2 separate regions of the Homo sapiens genome follow, and region 1 is linked to region 2. Evidence: promoter capture Hi-C in human tissues and cell types (Jung and others, 2019). All regions are on one chromosome and are shown on one strand. Each heading gives the region's core, a stretch centred on a gene start or on the middle of the fragment in contact. The rest is flanking DNA. Distances are from core to core; before and after follow the strand shown.

What was found. The method cuts DNA at HindIII sites, captures the fragments that hold promoters and counts their contacts. A contact is called where the count stands out against the background at its distance.
Region 1: the fragment with the promoter of CADM1 here is called in contact with the fragment with the promoter of C11orf71 in region 2 in 1 of the 25 tissues and cell types used here (hippocampus).

The regions. Positions count from the first base shown.
Region 1 is chr11:115,502,554-115,508,337 of GRCh38, forward strand. It overlaps CADM1 (cell adhesion molecule 1), which reads right to left and starts at 1,862. Exons shown (of 12, transcript NM_001301043.2): 1 at 1,718-1,862. The coding sequence starts at 1,841. RefSeq lists a silencer at 1,888-2,047. The HindIII fragment of the contact is 7,329 bases long and covers 1-5,784 here.
Region 2 is chr11:114,399,200-114,405,260 of GRCh38, forward strand. It overlaps C11orf71 (chromosome 11 open reading frame 71), which reads right to left and starts at 1,312. Exons shown (of 1, transcript NM_001271562.2): 1 at 1-1,312. The coding sequence starts at 1,132. The coding sequence ends at 761. RBM7 (RNA binding motif protein 7) reads left to right here and starts at 1,467. Exons shown (of 5, transcript NM_001286045.2): 1 at 1,467-1,568; 2 at 2,499-2,661; 3 at 3,629-3,716. The coding sequence starts at 1,473. RefSeq lists enhancers at 554-1,096, 810-1,199, 1,097-1,639. The HindIII fragment of the contact is 14,324 bases long and covers 1-6,061 here.

The DNA of each region.
Region 1 (5,784 bases), core at 612-3,111, 1.1 Mb after region 2:
AATTATCTCGTAACTCATAAATTAAGAATTCACAGAGGAAAAACACATAAACAACATCCGGAGACAGTGGCATGGAGGAAAAAAACCCTCAGCGCTGGAATTGACGCTGCTGCCAGACGCCCCCCAATAGGTTTCCCAAGCCGAGCTCCTTTGCAAGCCTATTTTGGGGGCAAGCAGCCAACCCGGCGTCCCCCAAATCTCAAGCTAGCACCCCCACACATCCCCCGTCTCCTACAGCGTGTCTCCTGCGGTGTTTACATAACTGTGTGTCCTCTAGCGTGTAAACAAAAGGCACAGCCCAAGCGGAGAGGCGCCCCTGAAGCAGCACCGTGGCCCCAACGCTGTGCCCGCCCGGGCCTGGGGCTCCGCAGGTGGGGGCTGAGCTCTCGGCGTCCTCCGCCACTTGTTGCTCCCGGGTCCTGCAGCTCTGGAGCTGCAAGGAGGGGCTTTGCAGGCTCAGAGCCCTGCTGCATCCCCTCCTGCATCGCCGCTCGCACCCCGCGGCCCCGTGCCACTCGGTCCCGGCGCCCGCCTGGAGCCTGCAGCAGGGGCCAGAGGACGCCGCGCGGCTGCCAAGCGCGGCGAGGTGGCGGGAAGGGAGGCTGGGTGCAGCACAGCCGGCCTCTCCGCTGAGGAAGAGCTCCGGCTCCCTTTTGTTAGCAAAAGCAAACACTGCCCTCTTCTTTCCCGACCGCGCCAACGCGCCCGGCACACGGGCAGCCACACATCGGGCTCCAGCCGAGTGCTCGGTGTCTTCAGGGAAGGCACCGGGCGTGCAGAGCCGCCCCTGGGCAAATTCCCAAGACTGCTCTTCACGCAGGGAGCGCGCGGAGGCCCGCAGGGTGCCCGCCTGGCCGCAGAGGCCGCGACGCCCCCTCCGCCACCCTCGGGCCGCCGAAAGAACGGGCAGCCGGGAAATCCCGTGTCCCCACTCGTGGCAGAGGACGCTGTGGGGCGGGCGGGCTGCGGGCTCCCGGCGCCTTCCCGCAGAGGCGGCGACAGCGGCCGCCCCCCCCGCGGGGCCGGGCCGGGGAACTTTCCCCGCCTGGAGCCGGGCCAAAAAGACCCGCAGCAGAGCCGAGGGGGCGGAGGGCTGCGAACGGCCGGAGGGAAACACGAGAGGCGTGCAGTTTGGGGACAGGGGAGAAAGGCAGAGCGCGTTGGGGGAAGGGGCAGGGGAGATCAGACAAGTCTGGGGATGTCCTGGGGACCGGGGAGAAATCACGCCGCGGGCGGCTGGGAGTCAGCCACCAGGAGGCTTCGGGGATGGAGAACTGGGGGGGCCCTCTGGAGAGGTGGGGGCGAATGGACAGCCCTGGGAGGTGGGAGGACCTGCAAGTTACGGGGAGAACGGCGAGTTTAGAAGGGTCCGGAAGGGTTGAGGTTGTCTTTGAACCATCCCCTTCCCCCATGCTTTACAGCCCCCGGGCCCCCCATTCTCACTCCACTCTGCACCCCGCGCCAAGCCGGGGAGAGAAGGTGTGGGTGCAGCCATCCCTGGGGACTCTCATTCACACTTAGCCGGGCAGGGGAGAAGGGGCTCACAGATGCCCTCAGCCCCTTCCCTCTCAGCCCTGAGTTTCCTCTCCACACTCCCTCCGCTTCGGATGTAGGAAGTGGGGGGAGGTTGTCATGGAAACGTTTCCCCCCTCTGTGGCCAAGGCTACTGGGGTGCCTTCGGAGATTTAGGGGCCAACCGGTCGGTGCCCACACCTACCTGTGGGGATCAGTGCCGCGGCGGAGAAGAGCAACAGCAGAAGCCGGAGCCGGAGCCCGGGAGGCGCCGCCGCCGCCGCTGCCGCCGCACACTGGGATCCGCTCGGCAGCACTACACTCGCCATGTCGGGCACCTGCCTCAGACTGGCGGCGTTGGCTGCCTCCGGAGCCCGAGCGGACAGCTAATGAGATGCTAATGACATGCGCTGGAGGCGGAGTCCGGGCAGACCAATCACAGCGCCGCGAGCCCAACCCGGCTCTCGGAGGGCCTCGCTCCCTCCCCCACCCCGCCCCCTGGCGCTGGCGTTCGGCGGCGCGCCCGCGCCACCTAGGGGCGGGGCCAAGGGGAGGGGCGTATGCAAATATGTTTATGTTAAAATTCGGGTTTTGCTTTCCCCGGATCAAGGAAAAAGTGTTCTCCCGGGCGCCTGGCGTGCAAGGACTCGGGCTCCAGGGGGCGGGTCTAGCTTCTTGTACACCTTTATTAGGAATGTTTATAGCAATCGCTGTATCAGACCGACGACTGGAGAATCTCCCTTAAGAGGGTCCTCTGTCCCGCACACCGAGTGCATCTGGCCTAGCGAACCAGACGTTGCAAATTTCCGTCACTCACCTTGCACCGAAGGAATAGATCTTTGGGAACGGGGGCTGTGCGGGAGTGGAGAGTAAGAAGGCAGGTCCCCGGATTGACAAAACAATCTGGGAGAAGTGCATGCGTGCTTTGCACGTCCGGCGGAGCGGGAGAGCCCGCTCAACAGCCTAGCGGTAGACTCGGGGATAGTTGGAGAAGGCAGCCGTAGAGTCGGGTTCTGAGATTTTCCAGTCGGTCTTTTTGCGGCAGAATCTCGGGAAAGGTAGATCGAGGAGGGTATGCTCAGGCTCCTCCGCTTGTCGAGGGTCTCCTCCCTGGTTTTAATATATAGGTGTGTGTTGAATATATGTGTGAAATATTTGTAATATTAGATATTTAAGATTACACAACAACGGAAAAAATTAGTCAAGGCTTCAGGTGAAGAGCGGGGGTGGTGGGAGTTGGGGAGAGGGAGTGTGGTGAAGGCAGGGTCTGCCGTGTTCCTCCTTCGGGGCTCAAACCCTCTCACTCCTCCTCTGCGCCCCCAGCCCTTCCTAAGGAAGCTGGGGACCAACAGGTGCTCCGAGCTTCCCCTGTCTCTGGGAGAGCCTCTCCTGCTAAAGCGACTTGCATCTCCGGACTCACTCTCCCTCCCCGAAATTCTCTTTGCTTTCTTTTCAGCCAGGCAGCCGGCTCTCTTGTTTGTCTGCTTTTTAATTACTTATTTTCTTCCCCTCTAGAAGATCGTGTGCGCTCTGACCCTCTGTTGCTCAAGCATCAAATTGAAGGACGAGCCATATTAAGTGTAAAGGTTTATAATAATTTAAGTATTCATAGAATGCAGAACAATAAGATGTAGGAAATACAATTTGCATAATAAATATCAATATCACAACAGCTAAAACAAACCATGACAAATTATCTGTGGCTAAATGACCAAGAGATTACTGAATGTAAATTGCTAAGTCTGAGCTATAGTCTAGAAGAGCTGCGCCAAATGACTTCCCCAGCCTTCTGTCCTCATCTTGCTATAAAATAAATAAATAATACATATCAAAAAGGAAGTCATGATCTGCCAACCCACCAAATGAGTTACACTTAAAAACAGCCTCCTATTATCCATTATGCATAAACTAATTTCGAGACTGCCCGGTCTTCACAGCCCTGGATATTCTGCTCTGTAATTACAGGCCCCGATGCATGAACTGCAGGCAGTCCTTCAGAAGTGGGGAAAGCTCCAACAGGAGAACAGCACTACAGGAGACAGGAAACCATTGCCACGTGGGTGCCAGGATAATGCCCAGTCTGCAAAGTCCTACCCGTTCTTACTACCTCTGGCAGTGAGGTACCTGGGTCGGACCAAATAGAGAGCAAAGTTCCACCAAAATTGGAATAAAAAAGTTAAGGCCAGCCGGGCACGCTGACTGATGCCTGTAATCCCAGCACTTTGGGAGGTTGAGGCAGATGGATCACCTGAGGTCAGGAGTTCGAGATCAACCTGGCCAACACGGCGAAACTCCGTCTCTAATAAAAATACAAAAATTAGCCAGGCGTGATGACACACACCTGTAATCCCAGCTACTCAGGAGGCTCAGGCAGGAGGATCACTTGAACCCAGGAGGCGGAGGTTGCAGTGAGCTGAGATCGCATCATTGCACTCCAGCCTGGGCGACAAGAGTGAAACTCCGTCTCAAAAAAAAAAAAGTAAGGCCATATGTATGCTGAAAGTGATATGTAAACTATAAAGGCAGGTCCTATATGGCAAGAATCCTGACACAGAGCCTGGCACATAGTAACATTATTATCTGCCGTTACTATTATTACTACTCTTGCATTCACTGAATTCTTAAGTATTCTACATGCAAAATCTCATTTAATACTTGAAACAATCCCCAAGGTACATACTATTATCTTTCATTTTATATTTTTTAAACATGATTAGAAAGATTAAGTAACTGCCCTAAGATTACAGTCTCTAACTTGCAGAAAGAGCCTATGCAATTAACCACTGTGCCTTTCTAAATATCCGTAAAGTGAATGAATAAATTTCACATTACAATGCATGAATAATAAGCAAAGGATAGCTACATTTTTAACATAAGATGAAAATATGCCAGCAACCCAGAAACATTTTTTTTTTTAACTAACAGAATTGCAGTATACTCCTAAGGAAAAACATTCCTCATGAAGCTGAATCTCCAGGAGAATCTAGCCAGGCCCCAGTCCTCCCACACTCGGAACACAGTATGGGGACATTGGAAGATGTAGGGTGTTTTCATCTCCCTTCATTCTCTTGGCACATCAAATGAACACCTACTCAAATTTCCAGTTGGCAAAGAACAACATGGGACATTTCTGTAGGAAATGCTAATGTCGTATGATTTACCTCACTAGAGGAATGCAAATAGCTTTAGAAATTTCCACCAAAATGTCCCCTGTGCCATAAGGTTAAGGAACTTGCACGTACAATTCCCCAGGTAAAGAAACTGAGTCCTGGGGCACATTTAGACTGGGTCTACATGCAAGAAGCAGAGCAGAGAATTTAGGATTAAGCTGTTTCTAGTCTATCCACTAGCCACACGCCTTTCCTACCCCCAGCTCCTTCACACTGAAGATCTCGCCAAGCAATTTAACATATGGAACATGTGAAGAACGCATCAAATTCCCGCAGCCGCTAAGTACAAGTTATGACTACTCTGGCTTTCTCATAGTAAAGCTCGTCATTTTCTGCTTCATGGACTAGAACTCCTCGCCAACTACAAGTTCCAAAATTTTCCCCTTTGCTACATGGATTTAACCAATTTTGAAAACCAGATGGTGTTTTTGCCATTTATAACTGATAATCAATTGTTTTGTGAATTTAATTTTTCAAGAAAGAACTGAAATACTTATCAGAATTACAATCTGGGTGCTTCTTGTGTTTGAATATAATTGCCAGAAGCACCAAGAGCCCAGGTTTTCCTTTTCTTTTTTTCCTTTTGTTGTTGTGAGAAACTTTAAAGAGCAAGAGTGAGAGCAAGAGAGAGAGAGACCTTATATTGTTTGCTTTCACTAAAACAGTTAAGAAACATGGATAAACATATATGAAAAATGATCATTAAAAGATGATTCATGTTTTGAGGATACATCAGAGACAATCAATGAGAACTAGCAGCATCTCGCTTTGTAAAGGACTAATTATTTGAGTACCTAGGTATAAAAAGCAACAAAGACAAATGATTAGGGAAAAGAAAACAGTATTTGGAGTCAGCATTTGCCCCGCAGGTGGATTATTTAAGTACCTATAGAAAAGTGATTTAATCTCTATTACGGACTAAATGTTTTGTGTCTCCCCAAAATTCATATGTTGAAGCTTAAACTCCCCCCATGTGATGGTGTTTAGGAGTGGGATCTTTGGGAGGTAATTAGATTTAGATGAGATTATGAAGGTGGGCCTCCATACTGGGATCAAAGTCCTTATAAGAAGAGCAAGAGATACCAGAGTTCTGTCTTGCCGT
Region 2 (6,061 bases), core at 62-2,561:
AATTCATACAGTGTTTACTACAGGGATCCCCAAATATTGTTAGTTGAATGAACAAACACACATTTCAAGGAGGGCACTACAGTGAGTAGATGAACAGTTTTCTGATAGGAGATTGTACAAGTAATGTTTTCACCAGTGTATTTTAGGACAGCAGATTCAGATTAATGCGCTGGGACTGAATGCAAATAGTAAAATTACAAATATAAAGTAAAAATTTGGAACCTTTGCCAAAGAAAGGAATAATAAATTGATTTAATAATTTGAAAGAACTGTAAGGTTTAGGTTTTGTTCTTATTTTTAGTGCGACTGAGATTGGAGTCTGTTTGTAGACATATCTGAAAAAAGTGAAGGGGGAGATGGAAGATGGTAAATGCCAAGGAAAAGATGGAAGGATAAATCAGTGTAATAAAAAGGAGCACTTCTTTTTCGCCAACAGAAGTAAAGGTAAAGGTTAAGTGTCTGAGTTAACGAATGGATTGTTGACCTCTGGGGAGGGTGCTCCCATCAGCTCAGCTTTGTGACGACCTAAGAATATCCCTTCCACACCTTTCCTGATCCAATCGTTCTGGCTGCATAAAACCACCTAAATCAATCAACTGTTACACTTCCCTTAGTGCTAGGACATATTCATATAACTCCCACGTATTAAATGAAAATACATCCATCTAAAAATAAAACAACACGATTGCTGCTACACCAAGAAAGGATTTTAAAAAGGCCTGTTCACAAGCTAAGTGAGGGCCAGAGGAAAGGTGTTCGTTTAAACTGAAATTCGAGCTGCGATAACACCTCCTAATGCAATCAAACGCTGTTGCAGCACACTTCTTAGGAGATCGGGTTCAACGGCAGGGATTGGGTAAGGTGAGAATCTGGCTTGGCGGCTCCGGCCCCGGCCATCTGGTTCCCTTGGGCTCCGGCCGCCACCATCCACTCGACGGCTCTCGGCCCGAACGCTTGGTCGCACCGCCTGCCGAGGTCCTAGATGAATCGCTTCAGGCCTGGAAACGAGGAAGCCGTCTCCGGAGACCATCGCCAACGCTGACGCCCGCGGTCTGAGGTCGCCATGGGAAGAGCGGTAGGCCACCCTGCTCCTCTGATCACCGGAGGACAGGGACACATTGTTCAGGGCCATATTCAAACACTGCCCGCAGTACTTGCGTTACGTCCCTTTGTGAAGGCAGGCCCTTCGCGGCTCCCCAGATCAGTCCAGCCTGTGTCGGACCCGATGACTAAGCACACAGGAACCCATAACTGAGCCTGCGGAAGAGCCAGAAGCCGCCTTGCCTTTAACGAGGGGTATCCTGGCGAGCATGCGCAGACCGTCCGCGCACGTCGTCGCCCGCTGAGAGCAAGCGCAACGGGCGTTTTCGTTTGTGACGCCAGGGAGCGTGAGGACGTGGGGCTTCCGTGAATGCGCAGTGGGTGCGTCGGCCACGACCTTTTGGCCAGGTTAGGGAGGGGGCGACGCTGAGATGGGGGCGGCGGCGGCGGAAGCGGATCGCACTCTCTTTGTGGGCAACCTTGAAACGAAAGTGACCGAGGAGCTCCTTTTCGAGCTTTTCCACCAGGTAAGCGGCTGGGTTCGGCCCTTTGCCTTTCGTTTTCCGTCTCGCCTAGGGCCTGGCCAGCGGCCACCCCGTTTTCTTTTCGTAGCCGTCAGGGGACCCGACGGGTGGCTGTTTGGGGGTGAAAGGCGGGTCTGGGTTGCGAAACGCTCGCTGGGTGTCGCTTTCCTGGAAGATCTTGGTTCGTTTAGGCCGAAAGTGACGACTAAAGGTGGTGGAGGGATCCTCGATCAGGTTTCCCGTGGTAGAGATCCAGGGGTCCTTGGGAACACAGTGTGTGTGTAGGGTCTTCGTTGAGCAGTGCTTTTTCTTATCCTTCCTGTTGTCATCTTCCCCTTAGGATAATTTGTCTTTGGTTTATCTGACTGGGAACTTAATATTTTAATTTATTTGTGTCTGTTTTCCCCTAAAGTTTGCTTATCAAATTGCAGCATTATTAAAATATGTAAAATAAAATGGTTAAGTACTCCGTAGAAAAACAGCATTTTAGTGTTGCTGTATTAAAAAGTGTGAAAAATTCTGAGTATCCTATTCCCCCCATCCCTATCCCCTAATAACTGGTATTGTTTGATTAATCAATACAAAAGTCCGTTTTTAGTTAAAGAAAATCATTCTCTTGTTCTTGATAAATGTTCATTTTCATGGAGTGGCAAAATAATGGCGATTGGTCACTATGTTAAGCCATACAGTGCTGTGAATTGCAAAAGTGATTGTGTTTCCAGTTCCTTATGGGCCCCCTTCCCCAAATAAATCTAATGTTCAGTCATAACTAGGATGTTTACTGTAGCCAAAATGGAAATCCGTGCATCATTTTCAAAAGAAGTTTCTGATTACGTTTCTGTTGTTTTTAAACTTTGTCATATCTTATTTGTAAAATTTGAGTATTTTCCCTTAGTTGCTTTATTTAAATTCTAAACACCTTTTTGTTTGTAGGCTGGGCCAGTAATAAAGGTGAAAATTCCAAAAGATAAGGATGGTAAACCAAAGCAGTTTGCGTTTGTGAATTTCAAACATGAAGTGTCTGTTCCTTATGCAATGAATCTACTTAATGGAATCAAACTTTATGGAAGGCCTATCAAAATTCAATTTAGATCAGGTAACTGCCCAATGAGGTTCGGGGGGCATTGTTTCCTGCTGTTTTTAAATTTATTATTCAGTTTTAAAGAACCTCTTATTTGTAGATGAAACTTCTTTCTTAAGCATTGTGAATAGTAAACTTTATATAGCAAACTTTATATATCCCTGAAAACGGGTAACATTGACACATGGATTTTGAAATTAGAATTTCAAAACTGAGCTTAAAGTTTCATTTTGGGTTAGTGAAAAAACATAAACTGTATCACTAAGAGAGCTGGGCTTGGGTACTCTGAAAAGAGCTAGGTTTATTTTCTGAAAATACTTCTCCTGGCTGCTTTGTAATTACTTTTATATATTTTGGTTCTTGATCATGTGAGGATGAAACTGTCCATGTATCCAGTGTTACAATTTAGGGTGGAGATCAGAAAATTATGGTCAGATTGGATATTTATGGAGTGCTTTGTTTTGCTTATCTGATATTATACACTTATAATTTTCACCCCGATGAAGCCGTAAAGCGGTCTACAGCAGCTTGAGATTCTTTTTTTTTTTTTTTTTTTTTTTTTTTTTTTTTTTTTTTGAGATGGAGTCTTGCCCTGTTGCCTAGGCTGGAGTGCAGTGGTGCAATTTCAGCTCACTGCAACCTCTGCCTCCCAGGTTCAAGTGATTCTCCTGCCTTAGCCTCCTGAGTAGCTGGGATTACAGGTGCACGCCACCACGCCTGGCTAATTCTTTGTATTTTTAGTAGAGGTGGGGTTTCACCATGTTGGTCAGGCTGGTCTCGAACTCCTGGCCTCGAGAGATGTGCCCACGTCAGCCTCCCAAAGTGCTGGGATTACAGGCGTCAGCCACCGCGCCCGGCCAGTAGTTTGAGATTTTTCTCTTTTAGATTGTGTTTACCTTTTTGGAGTGATTTCAAGTGGGGAAGACAAAATTTCAAATTAGATTTTCTATCAAGAATAATTTTTCAAATTGTTTCATTTTAGGAAGTAGTCATGCCCCACAAGATGTCAGTTTGTCATATCCCCAACATCATGTTGGAAATTCAAGCCCTACCTCCACATCTCCTAGCAGGTAATATTTCTCACTTATTGTTAAGATCATTTATCAGGAATTCTTATAGGGAATAGCCTCAAAACACATGAGTAAATAGTCTCCTTCATTATTCTCTTATCTCTTCATTCTGCCGTTATTACTTGCCTTTTGGGGTTGTTGTTATGTATCTATTCTAAGGGGTATAGAATGTGTCTATTCTATAGACAAACACATTGTATATAGTCCCCTTAGAATAGATACGTATATAACTATTTGTTGATTTGTAGCGACATAACCATACCCACATATGTGTACAGTACATGTATACACTTGAAACAAAATTTCTCAAAACATTATTTACCCTCACTACTTGGATTACTATTTCATTTAAAACATTTTAAAATTTATTTTACAGTCATTAATTGGTTGTTACTTACAGTTGAAAAATACCAGTTAGTCAACAGTCTATTGGACTAAGAATTCCTAGAATTGGATTCTAGGTCTGCATCTATCAATTGTGTAATCTTGAGCTAGTCTCCTTTCTTTAGTCCCGTCTTCCCATGTGTAAGGAAAATAAGTTGAATTAAATGATTTGTAAAATCTCTTCAGGTACTGAGTATTAGAAAATATCATATTTACTTAAATGATTTTATTTGCTTTGGGGAGGTTCATATTTTACCAGGGACAATTTTTCCCGGTATATCCATAAAGCTATTTAACAGTCATTTAAGAAAGATTTAATAAATACCTGCCATATGTCAGGTTCTTCACCATATCTTTTACATATATGATTTCATTTATTCCTCACAGCAGTTTTATGAGGGTAGGGATTATTTTTATCTCTACCTCTTATATGAAGGGAAATGAAAAATGGAGGTTAACTTGCTCAGGTTCAGTGGGCTGGGATTCAAACCCAGGCAGTGTAGTGTGATTGAGCCCAGCCACTATGATGTATTATCTAGAGGAGCTTAAAGTCTAAATGAAGACACATATTATATATATTTTTGTGAATACCTGTTCAATTACTGTAATAAGTTCTCTAAAGAAAGAGTACAAAGGGCTTTGAGAAAATTTTAAGAGAAGGAGATGATATAGATGAATGTGGAACTGAAAGAAGCCAGTGTACCTAGATCATAATGAATGAAAATGGAGAGCAGTAGGGGATTTTGGTAGATAGGCTGGAGAGGGTCTTTTAAACTATAATCAGGATTTTGAGATTTTACCCTAAAATGGAGTAGGAAGGCAGTGAAATGTTTTAGGTAGGGTACTGATAGGAACAAGTTTATATTTTAAGAGTTGTTTGGTTGCAGTGGGAGAATGGATTGGAGGGGGCAAGAGTGAAAATAGAGCAGTGAGGAAGCTTTTGGTAGCAAGGCATTGATGTTGGAAGCTATTGATGGATGAGGTTGATAGTTTAGATTAAGGTGGTGCCATGAGCTGGAGAGAAGTGGATGGATATGAAGAGATACTAGAAAGTGGAATAGTGAGCCAGCAATAGTGCAAAAAGTGTACCCTCCCGGTGTTCTTTCTTGCCAGCTGAAATTAATTAACAGTGTTTAAACATTTCTTGGTAAAGTTGGCATTTAAAGCACTTCCAGCCCCTTTAATGGAGTCTTCAAAGGCATCCTAGGTAGAGGAAAATAAAAAGTTTTCCCTCTTAGAATTTCTTGGGGAGAAAAAACCAGGTGCAGTGACCCATTCGTATAGTCCCAGCTACTTGGAAGGCTGTGGTGGGAGGACCACTTGAGGCCTTGAGTTTGGGACTAGCCTAGGCAACATAACAAGGCACTCTCTCTATTTAAAGAATTTCTTTGAAAAAAAAAAAGTACAAGTAAATACTTTGGTTTTAATCAAAGGCTAGAGAGTTTATAATTTTTATACTATAAACTAAATTGTACTGCCCCCCTCAGCATACAGATAATATAACCTGATTTGAAAAAACGCAAAATTAAAAGATCCAAAGTGTAAGACCAGCCAATTGGCTATTTGATTCTAAAGACATTTAAAAATAATTTAAAACATTTTTAAAGTGAGCTTTTCTGTAGAGCAAGTTATCCCTTTAATAAATAGGGAATAAGGTATAAATCCTCAAAAGTAATATCCTATGTATGTTACAGAACTCTTAATTCCTTACCTCCCAAAACCTCTTTCTCTTTTTTGTCTCGGGAAATATCTACCTAATTGCTCAAGCCAAGTCTAGATTTGATCCTTTGTTTCTTCCCTCATTCCACATATCCAGTCGATCAAATTCTTTTCATTTTAGTTTTCAATCTAGGTCTTTGCATTAGCTCAGGGACTGACAAATTATTTCTAGAAAGGACCATATAGTTAATATTTTAGACTTTGCAGAAGATACTGTTTCTGTCTCTGCCATTGTAGCACTA